4 separate regions of the Homo sapiens genome follow, and regions 2, 3 and 4 are each linked to region 1. The links are contacts of gene promoters, found by promoter capture Hi-C in blood cells and fetal thymus (Javierre and others, 2016). All regions are on one chromosome and are shown on one strand. Each heading gives the region's core, a stretch centred on a gene start or on the middle of the fragment in contact. The rest is flanking DNA. Distances are from core to core; before and after follow the strand shown. Region 1 holds the start of OR2AP1 (olfactory receptor family 2 subfamily AP member 1). Region 2 has its middle 46 kb from the start of OR10A7. Region 3 has its middle 26 kb from the start of OR10A7. Region 4 overlaps OR6C74 (olfactory receptor family 6 subfamily C member 74).

The links. Contacts are between HindIII fragments. The CHiCAGO score rates a contact against its expected background, and 5 or more counts as called.
Region 2: a fragment that was not itself captured here is called in contact with the fragment with the promoter of OR2AP1 in region 1 in 4 of 17 cell types (M2 macrophages, M0 macrophages, M1 macrophages and 1 more); the score reaches 7.2 in M2 macrophages.
Region 3: a fragment that was not itself captured here is called in contact with the fragment with the promoter of OR2AP1 in region 1 in 7 of 17 cell types (naive B cells, M0 macrophages, naive CD8 T cells and 4 more); the score reaches 11.5 in naive B cells.
Region 4: a contact is called between a fragment that was not itself captured here and the fragment with the promoter of OR2AP1 in region 1, in 5 of 17 cell types (M1 macrophages, M0 macrophages, total B cells and 2 more). The highest score is 8.3, in M1 macrophages.

The regions. Positions count from the first base shown.
Region 1 is chr12:55,570,833-55,574,614 of GRCh38, forward strand. It overlaps OR2AP1 (olfactory receptor family 2 subfamily AP member 1), which reads left to right and starts at 1,636. Exons shown (of 2, transcript NM_001258285.2): 1 at 1,636-1,790; 2 at 3,388-3,782. The coding sequence starts at 3,583. The HindIII fragment of the contact is 11,201 bases long and covers 1-3,782 here.
Region 2 is chr12:55,172,813-55,176,594 of GRCh38, forward strand. No RefSeq gene overlaps it. Among named protein-coding and RNA genes, the nearest start is that of OR10A7, 46 kb to the right of the region's middle. RefSeq lists enhancers at 1-548, 1-428. The HindIII fragment of the contact is 680 bases long and covers 1,256-1,935 here.
Region 3 is chr12:55,192,830-55,196,611 of GRCh38, forward strand. It overlaps the pseudogene OR10U1P. Among named protein-coding and RNA genes, the nearest start is that of OR10A7, 26 kb to the right of the region's middle. The HindIII fragment of the contact is 1,346 bases long and covers 1,263-2,608 here.
Region 4 is chr12:55,251,602-55,255,383 of GRCh38, forward strand. OR6C74 (olfactory receptor family 6 subfamily C member 74) reads left to right here. Exons shown (of 2, transcript NM_001005490.2): 2 at 1-3,782. Among named protein-coding and RNA genes, the nearest start is that of OR6C74, 8.9 kb to the left of the region's middle. The HindIII fragment of the contact is 245 bases long and covers 1,814-2,058 here.

The DNA of each region.
Region 1 (3,782 bases), core at 386-2,885:
CCAAAGTCGCTTCCACATTTTTGGGTATCTTTTCAGCAGCACCCCACTTCTGGTACCAATTTACTGTATTAGTCCATTTTCACACTGCTGATAAAGACATACCCAAGACTAGGCAATTTACAAAAGAAAGAGGTTTAGTGGACTCACAGTTCCACATGGCTGGGGAGGCATGACAATCATGGCAGAAGGGAAAAGGCACATCTCACATGGTGGCAGACAAGAGAAGAGAATGATAGCCAAGTAAAAGGAGTTTCCCCTTATAAAACCATCAGATCTTGTGAGACTTATTTACTAGCATGAGAAAAGTATGGGGGAAACCACCCCCTGATTCAATTATCTCCTATTGGGTCCCTCCCACAACATGAGGGAATTATGGGAGCTATAATTCAAGATGAGATTTGGTGGAGACACAGCAAAACCATACCTATGTTCATTGCAGTACTGGTCACAATAGCAAAGACATATAATCAACCTAAAAGTCCATCAATAGTAGACTGGATAAAGAAAATGTGGTACCAATTCACCATGGAATACTATGCAGCCATTAAAAAAGAGCAAGATCATGTCCTCTGCAAGAACATGAATGGAGCTGGAAGCCATTATACACAAATTAATGCAGGAACAGAAAACCAAATACCACATGTTCACACTTATAAGTGGGAGCTAAATGAAAACAAATGGACACAAAGAGGGGACCAATAGGCACTGGGGCCTATTTGAGGGAGGAAGGCAAGAGGAATAAGAAGAAGATCAGAAAAAAATAACCACTGGGTACTATGCTTAGTACCTGGGTGATGAAATAATCTGTACACCAAACCTTCATGACACAAGTCTACCTATATAACAAACCTGCACATGTACCCCTGAACCTAATATAAAAGTTAAGAAAAGAAAATGTGGCTTTTTAGGACCTCCAAATTTTTCCACCTAACCTGTTTGTCCATAGCCAAGTCCAGCTATGACCACCCACCTGAGAAAGAAAAATATAATTACTCCATACTCTTCTTCTCTGTGGCTAATGTTCTCTGGATACCTCCCCCACCACCACCAATGTGTCTCCAAACTAGTCTCCCTGGACCCTCTTCTCTCAGCTGTCTATTTAAAGTTTGTTCCCAAAGTTATTCACAAAGGACATTCATTAGCCTGTTCCAGATGAGGATCCCCCAGGCAACTTGTGTTTCTTCACTCGACTGATCCCCAGTGCATTCTCTCAATAGAGCAGGTATAACCTGTGTCACTCTGGGTAAAGTTTAATCTGGGGTAGGACAGGGAGTTCATATTATGCCTTCTGAGATCATCAGTTTATTTCTCCTACAACAGAAAAATTCAAGACTACTCTGCTTCTCAAAGTCCTTGTTTTAGTGTCCTAGTTATTGGCTATGCTTTAAAAAGAGGATGTCCAAAAACTCTGATTCAGCTCCTGTTTAATTAGTTGAATAACAGATCAGCAAATCCCCACTGAAATGATAAGAAACAGAAGCAGCGGACTACTTCTTACCAGGAAAAGTTTGGAAATTTGTGTATTTCTATGAAATGTAGTATAGAACTTGGTGGCAGAAAAGGTAAAACAAAAAATGCAATAATTCTTATACTATTTTGTAATTATATTGCCTTCTAATTTTAATTTGCCACCAAGAATATTTAGGATTAAAATCTCACAATAGTCATTTGGATAGTCAAGTCAGGAAGTATGTTACCTGTTTATAGCTTCATTTATTTTACTTCTCTGGAGTTGTAAAGACTGAAACTGATGCAGATGTGAATATTCAACCACTCCCTGAAGACTCCAGGTTAGTAACCAGGAGGAGAGGGCATCTGCAGCTGATGCTCTCTGGCTACCATCCCCAGCACCACCAACCCATCTCCAAGCTAACTTCTCTGGACCCTCTTCTCTCAGCTGTATATTTAAAGTTTGTTCCCTAAGTTATTTACAATAACTTTTCTTGATCCCTGATTTCAACTGTTGACTGCAACCCAATAGGAGGTTATAAAATCAATTTAGTGGGCTTCAACCAGCATTTTAAAAAGTAAATAGAAAATATCAGATTTTATCACATGGGTCAGGTACAGTGCCTCACATCTGTAATCTCAGCACTTTGGGAGGCCAAAGTGAGAGGATCATTTGAGCCCAGGAGTTCAAAACCAGCCTGGGCAACATAGCAAGACCCCATCTTCACAAAAAATAAAAAATAATAATTAGCTAGGCATGGTAGTGCATGCCTGTGGTCCCAGCTAATCAGGAGGCTGGGGTTGAAGGATCACTAGAGGCCAGGAGGTCAAGGCTGAAGTGAGTCATGATCATGCTAATGCACTCCAGCCTGGGTGTCAGAGTAAGACTGTGGCTCAAAATACATATATATATATATATTATACCTTATGTGGTAAGGAACGCTCTATAAAACTTTTAAGTGAGATCTATATGTGTTTATTAAAATATATATAATTTAGAATGAATTTTAATCAAGAATGCTTTAAAGCTGCTGCCTTATAAACATTTATAAAAACATAACTAGAAAGAAATCTTGAATAAATCAATAAGGGCACTCCCAGATAATGTGACTCTTTAACTGCATGGGCTCACAAATAAAGTAGAAACTTGAAATGCCCATGAAGTACCCAAATATGGAATCTCCCAGAAAATCCTGTATCATAGTTTTGTACATTTTCCCCATAAAATTCACATGCCCACATACACAAAATGTTTTACACATAATTTAATGGATTCACAGACATAGTAAATCTAATCTAGGGATTAGTAGATCCCTGGTTTAAAAGTTCTTGCTTTAAATATTCTTAAGATCCTAACATTTCCTTGGAATTTAATAGAATCTCCCTATCCTTACAGGAAGCAAAATTCTAGATCTAAAGATTCTGAATGTGTTTGAGGAAATATTCTAATCTAATATTTACTGACCCCTAGAAAGTATGTAGAATGTTTCAAAGGACAGAATAGCATAACCCTAATACACAAATCTTTGAATCTAACAGACAGACATAGGCTAAGAAGTTGGAGGGTCCACTGGAAAGAAGTGGGAAGATGATACTTTTTTTGCTTCAAGGGAATTAAGGAAGCTGAACCTGAAGAAAAATGAGAAATTGCTATATTTATATGAAAAAAAGGTAGGGAAGAGTAAGAAAAATGACAATTCTGAGAAGAGTTAGGCACAAAAAGGAAGTAGGGCAATGAATGGGATCAATGAGAAATAAAGTTAATGTTGGGGGGAAGAAATTCATAACCATTCTGGAAGGAGGTAGCAGCTGGAGGCATTCTTTTATTAACTTATTTCACAATGTTTTGAATATCATTTATGAGGCAGACACTTGCCTCATGTGAGCACTAGGGAGAGTACAATGTGGAAACATAATGACAAGAACTTTCCTCCATAGGGCAAATGGGACTGGGAAGGATCCAACATCATTCAAATGGGCCACTGGTCTGGACTATGTCATCAGAGGAGAAGTTAATCATCCATTTCATTTTTTTCTTGTCAGACTTCATCCGTTCATTTCAGAGCACCTCTTCCTTTCTCACTTTTGATTACTACTCTCTTTTTCACTTTGAGACTCAAAATTTTTTCAACAATGAAAAATAAAACCGTGTTAACTGAGTTTATCCTTCTGGGTCTAACAGATGTCCCTGAACTCCAGGTGGCAGTTTTCACCTTTCTTTTCCTTGCGTATTTACTCAGCATCCTTGGAAATCTGACTATCCTCATCCTCACCTTGCTGGACTCCCACCTTCAGACTCCCATGTATTTCTTTCTCCGGAACTTCTCCTTCTT
Region 2 (3,782 bases), core at 346-2,845, 400 kb before region 1:
ATCAGATACTTTTGTGAAGATGAGGGAACCTGCCCAGGGTCTTGTCTGGGCATGCCTGCCATAAACTGAGGGCCTGCCTGGGCACTGGGAGAATGAGTGGAGCCACTGGGAATTGGTGCCTTATGTAGTTAGGAGAAGGCTGGCCTCTTCAGCTTGAGTGTGGTGGCCTGGTATTCAATGAGGTGTGAGCCTGTTGGCAGGACCCCGTTTTTCTTGGCTGAGAGTTTTCTTTTTGCCTAATAAATCTGTCCTTCTCACCCTTCAAAGTGTCCATGTGCCTAATTTTTCCTGGTTGTGAGGCAAGAACGTGGATTTTAGCTAAACTAAGGAGCAAAATATCCCACATCATTTTGGTGGCCTGTATGGGGACATGAGGAAGGGTGAATCAAATGCAGAATCCCCCACAAAACCTCTTTCCCTTTTGTTTCTCAGCTTTTTCTTGCCCTCAGACATCTTCTGAAGGTAGAGAAAACTGTGACCCTCCACTTCCGTTGCCTTGGGGATTGCGAATGTCAACCTCAGTCCAACCCAGTCTTTTCTATGGCATTTTCCTTCTTTTGGGGGGGATTGTAATGGCACCTATCTTTTCTTTTACAATATTGGGGGTGTTCCACCACCACCCCAATGGTCACAGGCATGCATGCAAGACAGATAGGTGAGTGGTGACTCCCTGCCCACCTCCACCCAGCTGGGGCTGGGGCACCTGGCCCAAGGGCTCCACACAGCACGCTGGCCAGCATTCCCAGCAGCATCGAAAAGTTTCTCTCCAGTCCAACAGCAAGTAAAATTTCTCTCCCTGTTGGAGGAACACATTTGCATAAGAATAGGAGATTCTTCCCCCAGGCATCTTTCCAACTCTGTACTTAAGATGTTTTATTTTCTTTTCTTCACCCCATCAGCACTTAACACATCCCTGCACTTTAAGCTGTATTTTTTCTTTTCTCCACCAGGTCAGGAGTTGGTGGGTTGGTGCAAAAGTAGTTGTGTTATTTGACATTACTTAGCATGATGGGGACCATGAATGCTTTTGCACCAACCTAATAACACGCTCCTGCAAGTAGAAGGGACTTCTCTATGCCAGAGGCCTTTTTTCCTTTGAGAAGACATTATACTAGGCCAGGACTCAGTACACAAGACACCCTTTTCTCTCTCTTGTTGGAGGAGGACTCAGTTCCACAGCTTCACCTTAGCATTTGGCTTGTAAAGTGTCCACACAACCCGCCGAAGCAGTTCTTTTGTCCCAAACTCAATTCCAAGCTTTGAGTCGAAGCCCTAGGAAAGAAAACTCAATCTGGGGTATAGTGTTGAATAATATTCTATTGTCTAAATGTGCTACACTTTCTTTATCCATTCACCTACTGAAGAGCATCTTGATTGCTTCTGTTTTGGTAATTATGAAAAAGGTGTTACAGATATCAGGGCATAGGTTTTTTCGTGGATATAAGTTTTCAACTCTTTTGGGTGAATACTACACAGTGTGATGGCTGGGTCATATTGTAATAGTGAATTTAGTTTTGTAAGACAAGGCTAACCTGTCTTTCAAAGTGGCCGTGCCATTTTGCATTTCCATAAAAATTAAATGAACATGCTTGTTGCCCTATATCCTCACCAGTATTTTGCATTGCCAGTGCTCTGGATTTTGGCCATTCTAATAGATGTGTGGTAGTATCGTGTTATTTTAGTTTGCATTGCCCTGATGACATTTGATGCAGAACATCTTTTCATATGCTTATTTGACATTTGGCTATTTTTTGTGTGTCTGTTAAGCTATGTGGCCTATTTTTAATATTAAGTTATTTGCTTTCATATTGTTGAGTTTTAAGAGTTGTTTGTATATTTTGGTAACAGTCCTTTATCAGATATGACTTTGCAGAAATTTCCTTTCAGCCTGTGGCTTGTCTTTTTATTTTGCTGACTTTTTTTTTAACTGTACAAAGCTTACACATTAGTCAGATTTATTACTAAATATTTAATGTTTTGAATCTATTCAGTGGTGTATTTTTAGAAGAATCCAGTTATACTCTAACTCTCCCAGAGTTATATTAGAAATACCATATAACACTCCCAGAGATATGTTAGAAATAACATATCTAAACTCATCATGAGGCCAACATTACTTTGAAAACATATCCATCTCTCATGAATATAGCTACAACAATTCTTAATAAAATTTCAGAAAATCAAATCTGCAAATATAAAAAGAGGAAACATTAATGTTACCACATTATAAGAAATCAATGTAATTCTCAAGGCTACACTAGATTCAAAATATGGAGAAGTATATGTAAATTCTATCTCTTTGTAAGGATGAGCTGGCAAATATCAGAGTGATATTTGCAATTAATCACAAGATAGTATCCCCCTGTTGAAGGGTGTGAAGTAACACACTAGAAGGGGCAGGTTGATGAATATAGAGCCATTGTATAATCTCCACCCTTTTTCCTTAATACTCCAATTTTTTGAAAGAGAAATAAACTTATAGCTTATTCAGGTTGCATTGATTTTGTGATTTATGATCCTCATAATTTTCAAGAACAATCCTTGTAAATATGCTATTTCTGTGTGGATCCTTCCTCCACTCCTTGATGCTGGATGCTTCTCCCATACCGCAGATTTGAGGTTTACTTCCCAGAAAGTGTAAAGCGGAGGGTTTCTAGACTTGGAGACATAATGTACAGAAGATGAGTGGTTTTATACCAAAACTATGCGACTAAATTCCATATTCTGAACATATGTGAGATGTCCCAGGACTCCTCCCTCATTTGACAATTTTTGCTTCACATATTTTAATGGTCTGTGATTAAGTGTGTGAATGTTTATAATTGTTTTATCTTCTTGTGGTATTAAAACTTTTATTGATATGTCCTCCTTTTTTCTTGTTATTTTTAAAAATTTAAAGTCTATTTTTCTGATGTTAGTGGAGCCACTCCTGCCTTCTTTTAATTACTTTTCTATCATTTCACTTTTAATCTATTTCTCTCTTTAGATCTAAAGTGAGTTCCTTGTAGGAAAGTATATAGTTGTGAACCATGCTTCAAGGGGTTAAAAAAATTAATAAATTCTTGGGCTTACTGCATGGCAGATAAGAAGAGAAACAACTTACTAAAACTGTGCCCCGAAAGTAAGAAACTAGTAATTAATAGAAATTATTGAGTTTTCAGGATAGCAGACAAGAAAATAAACAACTTGATGAAATGCTGAAACTCTCTCCGCTGTAAGATAAAGAAAAAATTTGCTGAAGTCAGTTGGAACCAAGACGGCTGTATTAGTCCATTTTCATGCTGCTCATAAAAACGTACTTGAGATGGGGTAATTTATAAAGAAAAAGAGGTTTGATGGACTCACATTCTCAGTCTCACAGTTCCACATGGCTGGGGCGGCATCACAGTCACGGTGGAAGGTGAAAGGCACAAGCAAGCAAAAGTGGTTTCTCCATTATAAAACCATCAGATCTCATGAGACTTATTCACTACCACAAGAACAGTATGGGAGAACCACCCCCACAATTCAATTATCTCCCACCGGGTCCCTCCCGCAACATATGGGAATTATGGGAGCTACAATTCGAGATGAGATTTGGGTAGGGACACAGCAAAACCATATCAGTGGCCAACTAGAGTTTGCACATAATGAGCTTGCTGATGTCACCACAGCCTTAATTTCCGCTGCATGTTTTATACTAACTCCCCCTGAATTTGCATATGCAATGCATGAGGTAGTATGAAGAGATAACTGCACATACCAAAGGACTTTCCAGACCTCCTCTTTCCTTTCATCAATCA
Region 3 (3,782 bases), core at 686-3,185, 380 kb before region 1:
CACACTGTTTTTCTTAACTCATGTGTATCGTTTTCCCACTTCCAAGCTTCTTTCAAATAAATTAATTGCACTTGTATTAGAGTTTGACTCTAGAGTATCAACACTAAGATAAAATCAAAAAACTTTCAGGTTGACAAAATGTCTCTGAACATTTACATTTTTGTCAACTTCTCTAAAGTTGCCATAAGAAACCAACAGTTTTTTAAAGTTCTTTGTTTTAGTGTCTTATAGAAGACTTGCTTTTTATTATTCAAAGAGACAAAAACAATATATATTAGCTAGAATATATACACCGTGACAAAAGAAAATTATATTTAAATCAATACATTTAAACAGGGTTTACAATAGGTGTAATAAGATTGTATGTCTCAAAGGCAGACATTTCCCTAAGTCTTTACTCACATGAAAAACAAATAAACAAACCAACAAAAAACAGGTGGATAAGAGCAAAGGAAAACTCATGTTTCAGATAAAGAATTCAGGTCTCTCACTGGATTTACAAACTAAATATTTAAAGTTCTTTCATGGTGTACACCACTCATTAGTATTTATTAACAGTTGGTTATTTAATATGTATGACCTTAAGATGTACAGAGAGCACACTAATTAAAGGAGCATACTCCAATTAAGAACTTAAATTCTAATAGACTATATTTGATACTAAAATAGTATTACTTCCTGTTTATTTCATTTTTTGTTTTATACTCATAAAGGATATTTCATTTTCCTCAGGAAAATGGCATGAAACATACTGGACTTAATGCTATTACCACTGGAGAAGGAGAAAATGGTAGCTTGACACATGAGATGCCCTGTAAATACTGTTGAATGAATGAATGATTAACAATTGAATGAATCTACTGTGTAGTTTCCTTTTACTTACAGACATTGAAAAATGTGTGACAAATCCAAATGTTTTTTGGTAGCTAGGCTATAAATGCTTTAATAAAAGAATATGTTGGTAGAAGAATCATAAAATCGGGTAACCTCTCTGTACAGTAGCATAGGTTTCAGCTACTATGACTGGTTTAGGCCGTTTGTCTAAGAGAGTTCCTTTGGGTTATCCTTTGAAAGGCTTCCTTTACTTCCTTGTTCCTCAAGGTATAGATAACAGGATTCAAAGCAGGTGTGACCATTGTGTACATGAGTGCAGTTGCTTTGTCTGTTTCTGGAGTGTGTGCAGTCTTAGGTTGCAGATAAGTGAACAAGGCAGTGCCATAGAACAGAGAAACAACCAAGATATGAGAAGAACAAGTGGAGAAAGCTTTGTGTCTTCCAGCTGCTGAAGGGATTCTCAAGATGGTCACAGGGATGTGCATGTGGGAGCACAGAATGAGGAAACAAGGACTCACAATAAATAGCACGGAGAGAGAAAACATCACAATTTCAATTTGGGAGGTATCAATACAAGCCAGTTTCAGTACAGGCATTATGTCACAAAAAAGTGTTGAATCTTTCCTGTTCCACAGAAAGGCAAAGTGAAGATCAGGGTGATCTGGGCTGACTCCACCACCACTCCAGTGAACCAAGATGCTGCAGCCAATTTCAAACAAACACGAGGGCCCATGAAGAGAGTGTAATGCAGTGGGTAACAAATAGCTACAAAGCGATCGTAAGCCATAGCTGCTAGCAAGCAGCATTCTGTCAGTCCCAAGATGGCAAATATGTACATCTGGGTTGCACAGCCACCCACACTTATGGTTTTGGTCTCCACCAGCAGGTGCACCAGCATGAGGCACCACACTGGTGGTATAGCACATCTCCAGAAATGAGAGGTTCACCAGGAAGAAATACATTGGAGTGTGCAGGGCAGGGGTGATCCAGATCAGGGAGATGATGATGATATTTCCTCCTATAGTGCATAAGTGATGATTAAGAACACAATGAAGAGTACAAGCTGTAATTCTTCTATAGAAGAAAAAGCCACAAATGTGAATTTGGCACACAGGGACTGATTTCCATCTATGGTGGGCTCAGAGCTAAACATCTGTGCAGACAACAAAGAAGGCAGGTTAATGGGAATGCAGTCACCTAACACATCTCTCTACTGAACCACAGCAAAGGAGCTTTCCTAGAATCAGTAGTCTGAGATGAGAATCTAGACACCTGGATTTCTTCTGTTAAATCTTTCTAAACTACACAATTACATCGAATACATATTTCTTCCTGATTTTAAGTTATGGATTATATGCAATTTTCACAAACATTTGGAAAAAACAATGGTTTTTAAGTTGCATATTCTGAATCTTTTGTTTTTGTCTTATCACTAATTATATACAGAAGCTATTATGCAAGCAATATATGAAGACTTATAATTTTAAAGGAGTCACATAAAAATTAATAGATTCAGATGTAAAGGTGTTATACTCTGGTCTTCCAAATTCTATAACCTTCCTTAAAGCTACACTTAAGGGCTTAAAAGGGAATATATTTCCAGCTGTTTATCTATGTATTTATGTACATATTTTACTTGATCTGAACAGAATAAGCAAATAATTACAAAGCTAAGATCCAAGAAAGCCAAAATCGACAGAATCTCCTTTCTACAACCTCAGTGTAAATTTGCAAGAAATTACAAATAGGAGAACATACCTAGAACCACAAGGTAAGCTTTCTTTTCCTTTTTGGGCTCCTAGACTTCCTATGGCTCTAAATTATAGCACAGTGATAGAATAGGCAGTATTTTTATTTCTACTAGAGACCATAGGGAATACATCCACTGTGCAGCTTAATTATATTTGTCTCAAGAGGAGTATATTAAAAACAATGAGTGTTTAATGTGCAAGTTGGTTTTCAGTTGTTAAAGACATTTCCAGAGATACCTATTGCTGTCAGTTATATCACCTGTTCCAATGCATAAAACTAAAAGTTGCTAATTGGAACCCATCATACAACTGAAATTATTATTAAACTCTATGGATGTTTGCCATAGTAATCCTTTTTAAGCTCCTCAAATGGACAGTGACTAATTAGGCCTTTGTAATATTGGTAGGCACAGTGCATGGAACATAGTAGCCTCCATAAACCCCCAAAATAGCATTCACTTTATTCATTATTTATTATTCAATTGCTAGCAGCATTAAAAAAATAGGCACGGGAAGAAAACCCCAAATTTCCAATGGAATTAATTAAAGTAATTGGTCAAAAACATTAAAAAATGTATTTTTCTTCTACTGTCTTCAAGAAATGAAAATATTTTTCATTCTGAATGATCCCCATTGCTCCATTCCGGACACATTTTCTTTTCACTGTCAGGTCAATATGGTAAATTCATTGGGACATAGAGTAAGGCAAGTAAAAGAGGTTACAAGATCGATCAGTTTTGAAACTAATGCGTTAGATGGGACTGCTATTCTCGCCTCCCACGATTCCCATGCCAAACCAAAAGGCAGGAGTTTTAGACATTGTCTCTCCCTCCTAAAAAAATATGTATGCTTTTTTTGTGCCACTCATGCTGCCTCAGAGATGAAAGCCATGTGTTTTGGGGAGTGCTCTTCCATCAGTGTGGAGGTACTGCCAGAATGAATATACCACATTGAGAATGTTTAGGTTGGTGCAAAATTAATTGCGGGTTTTTGCCATTACTTTGCACCAACCTAATATTTAAGAAAACGCATTCTATTTGATGGTATAGCATCCCTGAAATACTGCAGCAGAAGGTCACATCATGCATAATCAGTGATATTTTGCCAAATCTCCCCACCAGGGTCTGGGAGTAAGAGTAAGTACATAGCTGTATTTCTTTGATATGTTTTTGCCACAAAATACTTACAAAACAAAAA
Region 4 (3,782 bases), core at 686-3,185, 320 kb before region 1:
TAGATTGGACTTGATGACAGGCAATATGAAAAAAAAATTAGGTGTTAGAAAACTACAAGTTTACTATAAATATGGAGTGTTTATGAGCATTGAAGAGATAATTCAATTGTATGATACAATAAAGTCCCATTGTATCATACATATCTCAAAAATTCTGTTTAGTTTTATCCTTTAAAAATCTTTTGAAGTAAAAGAATAGTCAATATTATCATAAATTTAGAAATTATGTCATATGAGAAAATATTTAGGGTACTAATGACATGGAGCTTGAGAAAAAATTGCTTATAAGAAAAATAAATGCTACCTTCAAATATTAAGATTACTGTGTTCTCAAAAATTATGGACTTGCTTTTCTTTTTATAAGTGTAAGTGTGCAACTGGTGTTTATCAAACATTCAATTAGTAAATATATGTATATTTTTCATGGTACATGCACATTTATCAGTTTATAATTTATATATAAACAATAGTATAAAATATTTTGAAATTTTAATAGAAAAATAGGAATTAATAAAGGAAATTATACAAAATGATCAATATATTTTAATAATATAACTTTACAGTATAACTTTTAATTTTACTTATGGTACAAATATTAGTTTCATTTTAATTCAGCATACTTTATTATACTTGCAAATACTTATGTAATTATTGTGTGAAATGAACTGCAAGTCTTATTACAGTTTATTTTACCTTGTACTTAGTTATGTGGGTTGTTGTAGTGCAAAGTTAATGCTTCACAATAATGTGGATCCATTTTAAATGAACTGGAAATCACAATAATTATTCTTCAATCCCATTCAAATATGCTTTTTTTTTTGAAATTGACTACATTAATGTTAATCAGCTGTCTTGATTTTGCATTTTTATGTAATTTTCTAAAAGCACACAAATGTTTTAAAATATTAAAATGATTATGTTTTCAAGTTTTCTAATGAGTAGATGAGTATTTTTATATTTAATGAGTTTAAATAATTTCCAGTAACAAAAATCGTGGAAAGAATTTCAAACAGTCAATTTCCAAATTTCTCTTTTAATTCAACTTTCTTTTGATAATGGGTTACTTTTTCCCATATTTTTAAAACACCATCTGTTTTGGAACAGAGTAAGGGGGTGATATCTTCAAGAAAACATATTACTGATGGAGACCTGTTGTCATAGGGAAGGGAAAACTAGGCTATGTCTACTTATAAAATAAAATTCCATAATTCTCTTCAATGTGTCTTTTAAAATACTTTACATAAGAAATTCTGATTCTGTATCTGATACAAGTTTTTAAATTATTACTTAGCATATCATCATACATTTCTGATTTGCTTCTCTTCCTTTTTTTTCTTCTCCACCTCCCCTTCCTTCTCCTTTCTCTTCTAACAACCCTTTAAAAATGTAAAATACATCTCAGGATCTCAGGTGGAAGTCTGTACCAAAACAATCCTTGGCCTGTGGGCTATGGTTTGCTGGCCTGTGGAATAAATGATGGCAAAGGGCTAGAGTACAAAGGTATACCATTTTATTTGCAGGTTGTGCCAATAAATTCTTGTATTATCTATTAATCCATAAACATTCATTCCCAAAATCAATAACTGGATATTTAGTGCCAGAATTATTTTTGATTTATTCTAGTAAATGGGCCATAACTGAAAAGACAGTTGCAATTGAATTTACTACCTAATTTAACTTATGGGTTCATTATCATCTGCTAAAATTTATCTGTGTTAGGAGAGGCAGACAGTTGAGTTCAATGGGTATGTGGATTAAGTCACCACTCCTGCATCTTTGTTTTTTAAGTCTTTGATGGTGGCACTAGCTTTGAAGCTTTTCCAAGGATATAATGATGCTGTCTGTTTATTATCTCTTAGTGAGGGAGACCATATGGTTTTCCACTTGGCCCTGAATATATGTGTTTTAACTGTATGCACAGGACAACTTTGCACATGCACTAGGTTCACTGTAAAACAGACTAGCACATAATCATAACTTATCAGGAAAATGTCTCTGACTCCAATTTCTTCCACTCTTATAAGTAAACACACTGGCATTTTATAGTCATTGTAATTAAGCTTAGCTCAGAAATGAGGTGGAATAACCTCTGAAAAATCCATGTTTCATTGATTTCACTGTACGATTTTCTTGGGAAAGGACCACATATCTATTGAAGGACACTAGCGGAAGATTTGGATATTAATATGCATGACAGTTTTGCAAAGACAACTTTCTTCATGGGTTCTGGTTCTATGAAAGGATTGAAGTCTGTAATTGAATAAGGAGCTTTAACTCCATTATGATGGCTAATTCATTCTTCCTTTCACTTATCCTAGAGTTCTTTCAATTATATGGACCAGTTAGAAACCTAATGAGCTGCCTGTTTATTTTAGTCCTAGGAACTTCATAATCTGTTGTTCACTACTAAAGTGCATCATGCAATATTGATAACTACTTCGGCCATACTGACCAATAAGTAACCACACTGAATATGCTCATATCAGTTAAGTGCTATTACATAGCCTCTGACTTTCCATGATCCATCATGTCCACTGAAATCAGGGAGTTCATTTTAACAAAAGCATCTTCCATCTTCATTTCAAACCAGTGGTTACAATACTTTTTAAAGCTGCTAGCAAATACCCTTGTGAATATTTTAATATCTTGCCAAAAGATTTTCCTCTGGGTATTCTCCAGTTACATAGCTAAGGGGTATGTAAGTAAATTGCATACAATAAAGCTGTTCCATATTGCAATTCCTCTAAGTTTTAGATTTATATTTACATATATGAAATACATACACACATATATGTAATTCCCAGTTGGGATCCTTTCAGATTTCCAATCAATTAACTTTCACAAAAGATATCTGGGAAGGATGTAAATTTAACCAATATTGCTGTATAATAAACTGCGAGATCAGAGCCTACCTTTGTTTTCAGCACCAAGTGACATGAGGATTTAAGAGATAAATTTATTTAGGACAGTCATGGGAACTTCATGATTTGCTGATTATTGTATAATTCAAGATAATAATTAAAGGATACAACCTTGTAATTTTCTTTCTTTAAGATCCTCAATATGGATCTTACCATGTTATAGCCTTATAGCATGTGCAGTACTTGTATTTCACATGCTTAGCACAGTGCTCTTTACCTTATACATCTACTTTGAGAAAGCTCAGCCTTAAATATAAGCTTCTTTCCAAGTGATAATATTTGATGCCATAGACTTGTAATATTCCATTTTCTTATGGTTGCAGCACTTCTCAGACCTTTCAAGATGATATTAACTAATTATAAATTACCCTTCTTAAGGATCTATTTCATGCAACCACTTGTAGTACCAAATATATCAGTTATCACTGTTAGGTTGCAATTCTCCATGGCATTTCTACACATTTAATATTATGCTTGGTCTGGATTTTTTTTTACAAAGTTGTTTTAATATCATTCAGCCTTGAAAGATCGAAATAATACCTCCCTCCAGGGCAGAAGGGAGATTTGCTTCCTGACTAGGATTATAAAATAGATGTCTCCCAGGGTGGCCAGGTTGGGCAGGTTTTCTAGCTATCTCTTTAAAATAGTGGGGGTTCCCTAAGTTCAGGATTTCACAGTTGTGTTACAGACTGATTGTGTCTGCTCTACCCATGGAGCCCCCTCTGCATTGCACCCCCTGGGGACTGGGAGGCAAAGGGAACGAGGAAACAACAGATGTTGGTGAGGATGTGGAGAAGTAGGAACACTTTTACACTGTTGGTGGGAGTATAAATTAGTTCAACCATTGTGGAAGACAGTGTG